Regions from separate parts of the Homo sapiens genome. Here region 1 is linked to region 2. Evidence: promoter capture Hi-C in 16 types of primary human blood cells and fetal thymus (Javierre and others, 2016). All regions are on one chromosome and are shown on one strand. Each heading gives the region's core, a stretch centred on a gene start or on the middle of the fragment in contact. The rest is flanking DNA. Distances are from core to core; before and after follow the strand shown. Region 1 holds the start of SKA1 (spindle and kinetochore associated complex subunit 1). Region 2 holds the start of IER3IP1 (immediate early response 3 interacting protein 1).

Evidence for each region. The method cuts DNA at HindIII sites, captures the fragments that hold promoters and counts their contacts. A CHiCAGO score of 5 or more calls a contact.
Region 1: a contact is called between the fragment with the promoter of SKA1 here and the fragment with the promoter of IER3IP1 in region 2, in 3 of 17 cell types (naive CD8 T cells, total CD8 T cells and non-activated CD4 T cells). The highest score is 8.7, in naive CD8 T cells.

Annotation. Positions count from the first base shown.
Region 1 is chr18:50,373,526-50,376,448 of GRCh38, forward strand. It overlaps SKA1 (spindle and kinetochore associated complex subunit 1), which reads left to right and starts at 1,521. Exons shown (of 7, transcript NM_145060.4): 1 at 1,521-1,669; 2 at 2,295-2,393. The coding sequence starts at 2,306. LOC105372114 (a long non-coding RNA gene) reads right to left here and starts at 1,353. Exons shown (of 3, transcript XR_935466.3): 1 at 1,070-1,353. RefSeq lists a silencer at 14-308. The HindIII fragment of the contact is 8,258 bases long and covers 1-2,923 here.
Region 2 is chr18:47,174,788-47,177,643 of GRCh38, forward strand. IER3IP1 (immediate early response 3 interacting protein 1) reads right to left here and starts at 1,577. Exons shown (of 3, transcript NM_016097.5): 1 at 1,400-1,577. The coding sequence starts at 1,490. RefSeq lists enhancers at 1,486-1,605, 1,616-1,745. The HindIII fragment of the contact is 4,620 bases long and covers 148-2,856 here.

The sequences.
Region 1 (2,923 bases), core at 271-2,770, 3.2 Mb after region 2:
AACAGCCTTGTTGCTCACACAAAGGCCAGTTTGGTGGTCTCTTCATACGGACATGAGTGAAAGTAACTGTCCAGATTACATTTTTTACAAAAGATTTTTTTCAGTCTCCTTCGCAGATGGGAGTGACCAGTGAGAAGCAGATGGAAGCCACTGGGTGTGGCTTCCAGCACAACGCTCTCAAAGTGCTGGTTCTGTTGGCAGTTAAGCCTATTACACATGCCTCTTGCTCGTTTCTGCTGCCTGGGAGAAAGACCTGAGGACAGGGGCTGGCAGCCTGAAGGTCCAAGTGCATAATAATAGCGCAGTGGAGCCAAGGGATGGACAGAACCTGGCGGTGCCACCACTCCAGCCTTGGGTGCTTTTCCCTCCTTTTCAACAGGGAGAATTAAACTTTTGTTTTTCTTATTTTAAATTTATATTTGCTCTTAAGTGGCAGGCCAGGTCTCACTAACAGCTGAACAGACAGGCCTCCGTAACCACTGTTTCAGCACTAGTTAAGTTAAATATTAAAAGCTGAAAGAGCCAGTGTCTTTATAGAAAGGCTGGTATGTAACAAAAGCCCACCAAGAGTTTTGCCCAGGCCTTTCCTGGTCCTTGAAGCATGAGAAAATAAAGAAGGAATTCTTAACAGGACCTGTTCAAGATTAAACAAGTTTTTATTGGGGGTCTGAAGAAACTCCCCCAGACCTCCACAAACAAGTTTATCGGGGGTCTGAAGGAACTGCCCAAACCTTCATGATTTAGCAGGAGACAAGATAAGGGTAATCACCTCTGGCACCTGCAGCCATCTAGATTAAGTAAATTTACTTAAATAAAGACCTTCCTTAGGACTGATCTTAGTTATAGATTAGAAACAGTTAATCATTTACGTCTTTACACACATGCACACTTACATGTAGACAGATAGTTTAGAAGGTATATAAGCTCTGGAAAACTTTGTAATTTTGAATCGATTTGGCGATATTTTCCAGGCCTTTTCCCTGTACCCGGTTACCGAAATAAACTCTTCTTTCCCAGTTCATCATGAGAATAAGCAGCCCAACCCCTGGTTTGGCCCGGGAACACTTACAGAGGCTGTCTAAGACCCAGAAGACAGGGTCACTGTTTCTTCCACACAAACTTAGCTGCTCTTTGGAATTTTCTGGGGTGTTTTTATAAATACTAAGGCTTGTGCCTCATTTCCCCAGTGTCTGATTTCACCGACTTGGGGTGTACTCTAGGCACTGAGACTTGTAATAGCTGCCCCTGGTGACTCTAAGGTGCAGCAAATGTCAAAGACCAGGACTTGGTGACGCCAGGTCCCTGGCTGGGCTGCGGTCAAGACTGCATGACCTGCTGAAATCTCCCCAGACTGGTTAGCGCGGAAAGAGCACCTCCGGGTTACCCTTTCGTCCGGAAGCCCCGCCTTCGCCGTCGCCCCGCCTTTCCCCGGCTCGGCCACCCCTCCTTCCCGCCCAGCTGTGGCCCCGGATGACGCAAACCGGGAACAGCGGCTGAGCCTGCGCTTCGGAAGCATGGATGTGCGCCTGCGCTGCGCTAGGGCGCGGCGGGCGGTTTGAATTTTGCTTACAGAGTCCCGTCTCACCATCCTGGGCTTCCAACGGAGACTGCGGTATCCGCAGCTGGAGACCCAGCGGCGAGTAGCCTTTTGCTCCCGGACGGACTTGAGGTTGGAGTCTGTGTGTTGGGGACCCTGCCTTTGGAAGCGCCCGAGGTAGCTGCTTGGCAGCTGGGGGCCGCGGACCGCGCCGGGCTTGGGGGAGGACGGGGCTGGAGGCTGGGTTGGATGCTTTAGACCCTCCCCTTCTCTCTCACCGGCGGAGTGGGTGGGAAACTGGTTCTTTCCCATTTCTCGGCCTCCTTACCGATCCCAAACTGTAAAGCCCCAACCCCTCACAGCACAGGAAAAATGATTACCTGGGCCCATTTCTTTGACAGTGTAACACATTTTTAAAAAATGTGTCCTTATTTTGCGTGTTTAAAGAAAATACCAATGTTGTCTTTATATACAAATAGTGCGTTTGTCCTCCTGAATCCTTAAGGAAAGGACCCAGGCTTATCCTCTTTCCCCTGGTTTGGGATCCATCGATGGCCTAAGGCTCTAAGACAAGTCAGTACGGTACCGTGGTTAGAAACTGAATGTTGTAGAAATGAAAGAAATTGCTCTTGAATTTTTGTGCTTAACCTTCAAAGACATGTGATTTACTTGACATTGACCATTCTTGGATTTCGAAAGTGAACAGAAATTTGTGTGGCTTTTCTTGTTACGAATATGTTTATGTTTTTTTCTTCAGAGGCTTAAAGGATGGCCTCGTCAGATCTGGAACAATTATGCTCTCATGTTAATGAAAAGATTGGCAATATTAAGAAAACCTTATCATTAAGAAACTGTGGTAAGTAAAACAGATTCCACTGACTTTGTATATACAAAATGCATTTTGATTATTCCACTCTGAATGATATCTTTGCTTGGTTAAGTGACTGCATCTTAGGTAATTTTAGATTTTTGCATAACGATTTTTTAAATAGTCCAATGTCATTTTGAATATTGTGGAGGATACTAAAAATGTAAGGTACATTGAACAATGAACTGAATATTCATTAGAATTATTTACTTATGTTTTTCTGAGACACATAGGCCAATGGTGAGATTTGAAGGTTATGTGGCATCCATGGTTCTACAGCTAAATAGAGATACAGTCATGCGTTCCTTAATGATGGAGATGTGTTCTGACAAAAGCGTTACATGATTTTGTCGTTGTGCAAACATCACATCATAGAATGTACGTAAATGTACACAAACCTAGATGGTATAGCCTACTACATATCTAGGCTATATAGCCTATTGCTCCTAGGCAACAAACCCGTATAGCATGTGACTGTACTGAATACCTTAGGCAAGTGTAACACAATGGTGAGTATT
Region 2 (2,856 bases), core at 327-2,826:
CCCTCTTCTCACCTGCCTCAGTTTTCACACCAGGTCTACACTGCTTAAAGCTCTCCTCACCCTTCCAGCTCCTCCCAACCCTTCACCTTCACCGAGTTAATGTTTACTCATGTATCAGATTTCAGGTTAGACACGCTTCCTCCAAGAAGCTTTCGCAGATACACAAGTTAGTATCTGCCCGTACTTCTCTTACATAATACTCTCTATACTTGTTATTGTCATTTGTTTAGTTTTTATTTAGATTAACTTCCATCAGAAGGGCAGAGTAGCTGCTGTAACTTCAGTTACTATAAATGGGCCTGGCACATACTTTGCACTCAATAAATATCTTCTGAAGTAAATGAAATGAATCAATCTTGCTCCTGGGTTTACGTTTCAGTGATTCAAACGGGCATACTTGGTACACAACGTGAGGTCCTGGAAGGTATAACTTGTGTTTTCATTTTTGAATTTCTAAATTCTAGCAGAGTTTTTGGCACACTCTATGCACCCAATAAGCTATCTGAATAAACTTTTCTTGGAACATGAGTGTCTGAATGTCCTGATAACTCCAACACGTTCCCTTCCTGTAATTCCTAAAGCCCAGGAACACTTATTGCCTTCCATCAGTTAGTGAACTACTGATGCTCCAAAATGGGTCACGCCTCCTTCCCCTCCACACCCAACTCGTTTTGTTTTGTTTGTTTTGTTTTGTTAGACGGAGTCTCACTCTATTGCCCAGGCTGGAGTGCAATGGCGCAATCTCGGCTCACTGCAACCTCTGCCTCCCAGGTTTAAGTGATTCTCCTGCCTCAGCCTCCCGCCCGGCTAATTTTTGTATTTCCACCACCACGTCCGGCTAATCTTTGTATTTTTAGTAGAGACGGGGTTTTACCATGTTGGCCAGGCTGGTCCCAAACTCCTGACATCATGATCCGCCGGCCTCGGCCTGCCAAAGTGCTGGGATTACAGGCGGGAGCCACCGCGCCCGGCCCCACACCCCCAACTCTTAGCCCGAAACTCAGACCCCGGGTTTTCGACTATTAAAAGTAGTCACAGGACCGCGACACTGCACTTCAGCCTGGGCAAAAGAGCGAGACTCCCCCTCAAAAAAAAAAGTAGTCACAGAAAACTGAATTAAATTACTGACCTGAAGTAATCGCAAGCAGAGGCGTCCCTGACTGACTTCTATATCCCTCCACCCCAACCCCCTGGGCCCTGCACAGCGGGTGTCTGTTGAATATTCTCCCGGCTGTTGAGCCCAAACCTGATGAGAGGAAAGGCTCGGCTTCCACTCCAAGCCGAGCCTTCCGCTGTTCTTCTGTCCCGGCCCTTGGTGTCCCCTCACGCGGCCCCATTAGGTTACGCGCCCCCGGGGACTCCGCCGCCGCCCCAGCCCGCGCCCCGCGGTCCCACTCACTGTTCTTGAGGAATCGCTCCTCGTGCAGCACTGCGATGGCGTTGACGCAGAGCAGGGCTGCCTGCAGCAGTGAGTACAGGGTAAAGGCCATGGCCGTCCGAGGCCGCCCCGAAGTCCAAGCGATTTCTCTCCCGCCGCCGCAAGGGACGTGGCGCCTCCACGGCCGGCGCCTTCCTACGGAAGCCGATGGGGCCCAAAACGAACTCTCCGGGAAGCCCCGCCTCCATCTGGCTAAGAACCGCCCCTCGCTGAAGACTGCAAGTCCTGCCGCTTGTCTAGACCGGTGATGTGCAATCAATGCTCTGATGTGGCCAGTGCTGCAGGTGCAAAATACACACCGGATTTCACACACTTGGAACTGGAACAAGGATGAAGAATATCCCAATAATTTTTTTTTTTTTGAGATGGAGTCTGGCCCTGTCGCCCAAACTGGAGTGCAGTGGCACGATCTCGGCTCACTGCAAGCTCCGACTCCCGGGTTCACGCCATTCTCCTGCCTCAGCCTCCCAAGTAGCTGGGACTACAGGTGCCCGCCACCACGCCCGGCTAATTTTTTGTATTTTTAGTAGAGACGGGGTTTCACCGTGTTAGCCAGGATGGTCTCAATCTCCTGACCTCGTGATTCCCCCCTCCTCGGCCTCCCAATAATTTTTAAATGTTGATAACATGTTGAAATGAAAATATTTTGAGGCCGGGCGCAGTGGCTCACGCCTGTAATTCTAGCACTTTGGGAAACCGAGGCGGGCAAATCACCTAAGGTCAAGAGTTCGAGACCAGTCTGGCCAACATGGCAAAACCCTGTCTCTACTGAAAATACAAAAATTAGCTGGGTGTGATGGTGGGCTCCTGTAATCCCAGCTACTCAGGAGGCTGAGAGAAGAGAATCACTTGAACCCGGGAGGCAGAGACTGCAGTGAGCCGAGATCCAGCCTGGGTGACAGAGCAAGAGGAAAGAAGGAAGGAAGGGAGGAAGGTTTCTTGTTTATTTTTAATTATTTTATTTAATGTGGTTATGAAGATACTGTAAATGACATGTGACGCTTGCATTATATTTCTATTGCTCAGTACTGCACTTGATGCTCCCAGGAGATACAGGAGATACTAATATTCCCATTTCAGATTTCAGAATGCTAAAACAAAATAACTGTTTTAAAATTACTCAGTGAGAAACATCCCCTCCTTGACCAAACTCCAACCAAGATCCTCTGAGCCTCTTCTTTTTTTTTTTCCCCCCCCAGGAACAGGGTCTTGCTCTGTTGCCCAGGCTGGAGTGCAGTGGCACCATCATAGCTCAATGCAGCCTTCAGCTCCTGGCTCGAGCAGTCCTCCTGCCTTAGCCTCCTGCTTAGCTGTATGTGATGGTTAAGACTGAGTGTCAACTTGATTGGATTGAAGGATGCAAAGTATTGATCCTGGGTGTGTCTGTGAGGGTGTTGCCAAAGGAGATTAACATTTGA